3 separate regions of the Homo sapiens genome follow, and all the other regions are linked to region 1. The links are contacts of gene promoters, found by promoter capture Hi-C in human tissues and cell types (Jung and others, 2019). All regions are on one chromosome and are shown on one strand. Each heading gives the region's core, a stretch centred on a gene start or on the middle of the fragment in contact. The rest is flanking DNA. Distances are from core to core; before and after follow the strand shown.

What was found. The method cuts DNA at HindIII sites, captures the fragments that hold promoters and counts their contacts. A contact is called where the count stands out against the background at its distance.
Region 2: a contact is called between a fragment that was not itself captured here and the fragment with the promoter of FAM78A in region 1, in 1 of the 25 tissues and cell types used here (dorsolateral prefrontal cortex).
Region 3: a contact is called between the fragment with the promoter of QRFP here and the fragment with the promoter of FAM78A in region 1, in 2 of the 25 tissues and cell types used here (bladder and liver).

What each region holds. Positions count from the first base shown.
Region 1 is chr9:131,275,212-131,277,786 of GRCh38, forward strand. FAM78A (family with sequence similarity 78 member A) reads right to left here and starts at 1,299. Exons shown (of 2, transcript NM_033387.4): 1 at 646-1,299. The coding sequence starts at 968. RefSeq lists enhancers at 1-28, 14-626, 39-88, 119-168, 329-828 and a silencer at 1,469-2,575. The HindIII fragment of the contact is 9,704 bases long and covers 1-2,575 here.
Region 2 is chr9:131,712,039-131,714,613 of GRCh38, forward strand. The region is part of intron 1 of RAPGEF1 (Rap guanine nucleotide exchange factor 1); the gene reads right to left. Among named protein-coding and RNA genes, the nearest start is that of RAPGEF1, 27 kb to the right of the region's middle. RefSeq lists enhancers at 30-531, 532-1,031. The HindIII fragment of the contact is 4,070 bases long and covers 1-2,575 here.
Region 3 is chr9:130,895,487-130,898,061 of GRCh38, forward strand. QRFP (pyroglutamylated RFamide peptide) reads right to left here and starts at 1,326. Exons shown (of 3, transcript NM_198180.3): 1 at 1,091-1,326; 2 at 211-495. RefSeq lists enhancers at 1-134, 135-821. The HindIII fragment of the contact is 19,380 bases long and covers 1-2,348 here.

The DNA.
Region 1 (2,575 bases), core at 49-2,548:
AGGGACACTGGACTTGTCTGCATAAAGCGGTCTTCTGCCTTGGAGACAGAAAGCGATACACTGTGAAGAAATCGGGCTTCTAAAACTAACTGTGCTCTCAAACACAGTGCCGTTTGGAACGGGGAAGCACTCCCCCAGCTCCTGGCATACACTGGTAAAAGCCAGAAAGATAATTGAGGCCCAATCGCAAAGCCCTGAACACACCGGTCTGGGAGTTGCAGAGTGCCTGAATGTCTGCCATGGGCCCGCACAGGGCCAGAGGCCTGGAGGGCAGCCCTGCAGCCTCTCTGGTGACCCCTGATGGCACAGACACTCCTCAGGCGGACGGCACACTTGCTCTGCCAGGAAACACTGGGAGTAATGTCTCTCTGCTTTCTCGGCATCTTGCAGGGAAGGACACAGGAACCCGGGGGGAACAGTGGCAGGGTAGATTGCAGGACCGTGACTCCAATCTGGATCCACAGGCAAACTTTTCAGGGAGCCACCGGGCCAATGAGGCCACCTGCATACCTGCCTAAAGCTTCCCTCTGGCCTCCGTCCTGTCTTCATGGTATCTCCACCTTCCCCCTATCCGCGGCCCCCCACCAGGCCTCCAAGCTCGGCCATCCCTAGCAGTTCCCAGAGCTGGCTCTCGGCCGTACTCACATGCCCTGCTCGCCGTACTGGTTGTAGAACTCCATGTGGCTGCACGCCTGGATCCAGCCAACTACCCAAGTCTCCTTCTTGGGGATGGGCGGCATGACCACCTGGGCCGAGGCCCGGAAGTGGGGTGTCCGGTAGCGGAGCACCACGCTGGAGGACTCATCGATGCTAGTGGGGACGGGGTCGATGGAGGCTTTCACATCAATCACCGTGATCCCTTCCCGGAAGACTCTGGCTTTGCCTCCGATGCTCTGAATACAGCCCATGGCATACAGGAGCGCTCTGATCTCCAGGGAAGGCCAGCAGTCACAGAAAAAACCAGGCATTGAAAGGACAGAGGCTGCAGGACCCAGTACAGACGGCGCTGCTCTCCAATCTCAACTCTCAAGACCGATATCCATAGGATAGAAAACTCACTGAGTAGACTGGGGTTGCATATATCACTACCGCGGCCTGTTTATAAATAAGGATTCTGCTGCATTTCATGAGCCCTGGGCTCTCTCTTCTTCTCCTCGCAGTGGACAAAAATCACCGATATTCTTTGGGTTAAAAAAAGTTTGTAGTTTAATGAATAATTATGCGGTTCTGACATCCAGCCCTTCTGTGCCTCACACGCGGGGACGGCAGCTCGCAGACTCTCCCTGAAGTCTTCGGAGGAAGCAGGCGAGCGCCGGCAGACTCATAAATAAGGAAGGCTCTGTCCCCGCGCGGCCGCGCCACCCTCGCGGCAGAAGCCTGACTTCCTGCCCTCCGGCCTTCCGCACGCGCTCCCTCCGGGCCCCGCACCCGCACCCGCCCGGCGCGGTCGAATCAATTGCAGAGCAGTTTGTGTTCACCCGGCCGAGGTCCCGGCGCCCTCGGGGCGAGCGCCGACCCGCGGCTTCCAGGAGGCGAGCTCAGGGCTCCGGCCGCTCGCCGGTGACGGGGGAGCGCGGCGCGGGTCCCCGTCGGCGCCCACTCGCGGGCGCGGGCCGGACGTCCCCACGCAGGGGCGCCGCGTCCCTTCGCCGCTGTCGCTGCCGGCCGCCGTGCAGGGTCCCGGGGCTGCGCTCCGGCCGCCGCCGCCTGCTTCGCCGCGGCCGCCGAGGACCTGGTGGGAGGTGGAAGGGACAGCGCGTCAAGGCCAGCCTCAAAGTTAAGCCGAACTTTGCTGCGGGGGGCGCGCGGGGGCGGCGACGCGTGTGCGCTGGGCGCGGGCTGCGGAGCTGACGGCGCAGCTCTGGGCGGTCTCCCCGGAGGCGGTGGCCCCCGCCCCCCGCGCCCGCCCCGTCAGTGGCGGCCGCACGACCGCGCGCACCAGCGAATAATAGCCGCCCGTGACATCTCCGCTGATACCGTCCCGGACGGGCGGGGTGGGGGGCGAGCGGCTGCCGCTGCAGGGGGCGGCGAGCACTTGCCCTGCTCTGTCCCCACCGCCGCGCCGCCAGCGCCAGGTGCCCCTTCCCCACCCCGGTCCCTCCGGCTCCCTGGGCGCAGGGCCACCCACCAGTGCCGTCGGATCCGGCGGGCACCCCTTTCCCGGCTGGGGTCCCTCGGCCCTCGGAGGGCATAGTGCCCCCGCTCCGCCGCGTCAAGCGCCTCTGTCGCCCCTCTCCAGCCGCGAGCAGCCCCGGGTCCCCACGCGTCGGGCGCGCTCGCCGCTGCCGGGGAACTTTGGCGCGCACGCCCCCACTCGGGCGGCGCCGCCGACTCACCTGCCCCGGGGGCCACTCCGCTGGCCCGGGCAGCCGCTCTCCGGACGCCCCTGACCCGGCCGCGGGCACGTTCTTGGGGCGCCCCCACCCCCTTCCCCGGGCACTGTCCCTTGGCTCTACTGGAGTCTGGGGCCGGCGTGGGCGCCCCCGGCCCCCACCCTCCTCCCGGCTTGGGGCTTCGGGGGGGCGGCCGGGGGCGGAGGGCTGAGGCTCGGGGCTCTCTCGCCCCCACCCCGCGC
Region 2 (2,575 bases), core at 50-2,549, 440 kb after region 1:
TTTTTGCAAAATCACGGCCTGAGAGTCCAAACTTGGCAAAGCAAATGGCATGTGTCTGTCGCACCGTCTCCAATGAGGTGGCAGGAAAGAGCATGGGTGCAGAGGCTCCCTGTTTCCCTCACAGAGCCCGCAAGCTCCTCCCCAGATTAAACTGCAGCCACAAACTGGAATAAAGCACAGGGAACCCCCACCACGCGAGAGGGGTCCAGTGAAAACTAACAGTTGCACAGCAGAATACCTGGCACACAGTAGGTGCTTAATAACTCTCTGTTGAATAAATGAGTGGATAGGTGACAGAATAAACCAATGAGAATTATCCCCAACATACACACACTGATTGTCCCCACCCCCTGGAATGCATTAACCAGAGTTTCTAATCCATAAACAACCTCTCCTCTCCTAGCAAGAGTCAGAGGGTATGGGCGGCTGGGGCGCTGTTTCCTCCACTTCCCCACTCCTTAGCTCAGGCCACTCTGGGCCCTGGAATTTCTTCCCTATCAGGAGTGCGAAGCCCCTGAAGTCAGGAGCCGTGTCTGGGGCAGCTCCTCCTGGCGCCTGTGCACACAGACAACAATGGGTCACAGTTACAGAACCTGGGCTCAGGTGTGCCCTCTCTCGTTTCTCAGCTGGGGGCCAACACATTTGTAACTGTGTTTCCATGAAAAAACGCATCCTAGGTTCCAAACAACTAATATACTGATGAACCTTTAGAATGAACTGGACATTTTTCCTTGAGAGAACAGCTTTGAAATGAGGACCCTGTGGTCCAACCCTTCTCAATCATGGCTCCCCCAAAATAACTCCAATGTGAACTGTTCAGGGGTAGGGGGAGGGGGAGAGCAACAGAATAACCTAATCTTAAGAATTCCTCTCTAATCCCCAGCTCAGAAAGCGTCTTTTACAGTCATCCCCTCTGCAGTGTCCCAGACTAAGCAAACAAACAAAAAAACATAGAGCCATCCCCAAAGACCAATATGCTTGCAATCCAAGATGGGCAAGCGACCCATCTCCAGTCCACATTTCAGGGAGACAACAGAAAATTTTTCTGATTCTTCACAAATGGGAAGAATCAAAAGTGAACTGTTACCAGAAGCAGAAGGCTGACTGCACAGCCACTGTGATGAGTTTCCAAGCCTTGCACAAATACGCCGAGAACGCTGTGGCTGTACGAACTGCCTTCAATCAGACCCGACCTGGCCATGTGTTATCAAGGTCACTCCTTCAGGTATGACTACTCCAAGCCTCAAATCTCTGTAAAACCCAAGGAGATCCACAAGATCATCTGCTCCAGCGACTCCCTTCCCCATTTCACAGATTCCTCAGAGAGGGGCAGGGATCAACGCTAGGCATTTAGTTGGAGGGCTGGATCCAGCCCCCAAATCTTTATCCTTGGCTAGGAAAACCTCTGCTACCCATTTCCTCATGACCAGAGGAGGCAGGAGGGCAGTGTGAAGGAATTGGCTTTGAAGGCCAGCTGGCCTGGTTTGAATCTATGGGGGCACTTCCTAGCTGAACAACTTTGGGATAGAAACTAAACCTTTCCACACCTTGTATTTTCACATACATTCATGTGTACCATTATGCTGTCTACTTCATGGGTAGTTTAAAGGTTAAATAAGAATTCAGACTTGGGAGGCTGAGGTGGGAGGTTGAGGCAGGAGAATCATTTGAGCCCAGGAGGTCAAGACTGCAGTGATTTGTGATCACACCACTGCACTCCAGTCTGGGCCACAGAGCGAGAACCCATCTCTAAAAAACTAAACTAAAATAAAGATGTTTAAAATTTGTTGGTACACAGCAGATACTCAATGAGAATAGCTGTCACTGTTTTTATTATTATTACCTATAAATCTCCAAGCTTTAGATACAATACATTGAAAAAAATTATTTACCCTCACTAGGGATTTTCTCCCCCATATCAGAGTAAGATCCACTGCAATATTCTAGTAAATAATCATTCTCTTAGTATAATTAAAATAAAATTTATCTTACAAACATCTGTACCTCAGGAATAATTTTTTTTTTTAAGAGACAGGGTCTCCCTATATTGCCCAGGTGGCCTCAAACTCCTAGGCTCAAGTGATCCTCCTGCCTCAGCCTCCCGAGTAGCTGGACTCCAGGAGGAATGATATTTTGATTGTGGAACATGACATAAGCCAGAGGGGTAATATTGTGGCCACTGAAGTAGGAAACATTTTAAGGAGTGCCTGTCCCTACACGCAAGACGCTGTTGGCTCCAGACGAACTCTGAGTCAGGATCCTGCAAGGCGGTGCTCACTTCTTGAAGGAGATTTTTTTTTTTTTTTAGATAGAAATGGCTCAGAAGGGAAGGGCTCGTGGATCCCTGTAATGTGCACACTCACCCACCCAGAACCAAAGAAACAGAGGCTGGGCTCTCAGGCGGGTACCCGGTAGCTCACACAAAGCTTTGTGTATGGAATTTGTCTGCTGGGAGGAAAGTCTGATGTTGGTCACTTCCCTCCTGGAGAAAAATACAACAATACGAGGAAGCGCCAAGCACTGTGGGAATGTTCCAAGTGTGAGTTCCAGCTCAGCCCAGAATATAAACAAAAGC
Region 3 (2,575 bases), core at 76-2,575, 380 kb before region 1:
AAAGCACGGGTGAGGCTGGGTCCCAGCCCTGGCAGGGCAGCCGTGACCAATCTGTGCTGCTCTGGGCTGTTGGCAGGGGAGGCACTGGTGTCCCCTCTCCGGGCACTCCCTCCCTGTGCTTCTGTGTGCCCTCTGACTGCCCATGCCTGGCTCCTGCCTGGGCAGGGCCTGAGCTGGGGTTCCTGCTGGGGACAGGGCAGCTATGCTCACCGTGTGGCTGGGACTGCTCCCAGGAAGGCTGGCTGGTGGATCGCTGGGCTCCGGGGCTGGGCTGGGCAGAGCTGCTCTGGGTCCTCGTCCAGGAGGCATGGCCCCTGGGCTCTCCCTGCTTTATATGGCCCGCGGTGCGCTTGCTGCTCTGCCGACTGCCTGCTGCGCATTCCTGACCCTGGGATTCCATTGGGGACGCTGTTGTTGAAGAGGGGCAGTGCTGACCGCGTTGATAAAAACAACCTCACACAGGATGTAGTCTGATGAGAGGGCAGGCGGGCTGCCCTTTGGAGGAGAGCAGACAGCATCATTAACTGCAAATTGCGGGCACAGACCCTCGAGTCCCTTGGCGGGGGTTCCAAGCCCACCCTTCACCCTAAGGGTCCTGCCTTTGCTGGGTTGGCACCTCACGCTCCGGAGAGGACATGGGGTGGGTGGACATCTACCCGACACACCTACTGCCCAGCTTGCAGGATGGCTTTCATGGGCAGGAAAGCCACAGACACCCATGAGGCCCGTGTTTCACAGGCACCGGGCTGCGCGGCTAAGCCAGGTGCACCTCCCCGGCAGGTGGAGCCCTCAGCGGCCTGTTACCCAGGAACCAACCAAGGGGGCACGGCAGATGCCCAGGACAGCAGTGGAGCATTTGCCTGTGGCCCCCAGCCCCTCCCACCGCATACCCTGGGTGGCCCCCTACTGTCACCGAGGGTCACCTCTGGGAGGCCAGCAGGAGGACCCAGCCTCTGCTCCTTGCCCGGCAGAGATTCTCCCTCCACTGAGAGCAGGCAGGGGGGTGATGAGGCAGCCCCACCCCACCACTGTCAGGAACTGAGCACAGAGGGCCTCCCCCATTCCAGGGGCCCTCACCCAGCCGACCTACCCCTGCATCCCGGCTGCTGGGGGATCAGAAGTCATGGGAATAGAGAGCCTGTGGACACTTCCCCAGAGACCTGAGGAAGGCACTGGAATCTCGATCCTCCACTTCGGGGCTGAGCGCCCAGGTTCGGGCGGAGGGTCTGCGGATTGAAGCCGATGACTGAGCTTTGCTGGCCAGAACCAGCTTCCATCCCCCAGGCCAGGGCTGCCTCCGATGGCCTGAGGTGCCCCTGTCCTGTGTGTGCATGTGTGTGTATGCCCCCACATGAGTATGTGCACACGTGCGTACACGTGTGTGTGCTCGTGAGACGGGAGGTGTGGTGTCCTTCTGTCTCCCTGGTTAGTGCTGGTTGATTCTGACAGCGGGCACCAGTTATCCATGGGGTGCCGCCCAGGGTGGGTCTCTACCGTGCTATGAGCCTGGACCGGATGCCTGCCCTCTGGGTGCCTCAGTGCTCCCTTGGTGTAAAGCGAGGTTCAAGTTCCCAAGCTGTGCTTTGCAGAATTCCTCAGGAATGGCCATGGAAGTTGGGGAAGGCAACATGGGGTCCAATCCCGCAGGCACCCCTCTCCTACAGGCACCCCACTCCCCTACAGGCTACCCCTCTGCCCTACAGGCACCCCTTTGCCCCACACGCACCCCTCTGCCCCACAGACACTCCTCTGCCCTACAGGCACCTCTCTGCCCCGCAGGCACCCCTGTGACCCACATGCACCCCTGTGCCCCGCAGGCACCCCTGTGCCCCGCACGCACCCCTGTGCCCTGCATGCACCCCTGTGCCCCGCACACACCCCTGTGCCCTGCACGCGCCCCTGTGCCCCTCAGGCCAAGCCCCACTTTGCTGTGTTTGACATGTTGAGCTCCCAGAAAAGGTTCTGCTTTGAAACCACCAGGGCCCGGAGTCCTTTTGCGGGACTGAGGTCTGTGGCTCTGAGAGGTGGTCACAGAATGTCCTGCATGTGAGGGGCTGGTCTGGGGTGGGAGCAATATTGGGGTGAGGATGAGGGGTCCCCACGTGGCCCACATGTTCCCCAGCCTCAGGTCCCCGCCTGCCCCCTTCAGACCGGGGTGCCTGGAGCCCAGTCAGGCGTTGGATTTGGTGCCAAACCTTCTGACTCCAGGGACTTGCCTGGTCCCCTCCACCCCTGGAACTCCTGGACGGAAAAATTGCTTTCAGATGCCCTTCCTGGGCCCCTGGAAGCATCTGGGTTCCCCCACCTCTTGAGCAATTGGGGGTGACAACTGTGCCACTGTTTGCCACCAGCAGCCGAGATAGGCAGGGTCTGGGCTGCCTGGATGCACAGGGTGGCCGGGGCTAGATCAGTCCAAGAGTGGCAGTACCCATCGGGGCGGCTTCCAGCGCTGGAGGCTTTTTCTGCTGTCGGGTAAATGCAGGGAGGCGAGGCGTGAGGGTGGTGGGGCTGGTGGTGCAGGAAGCCGCTCTGGGGGTGGAGTCCGTGGACCACCTCGAAGCCTGTGGGGTTCCCT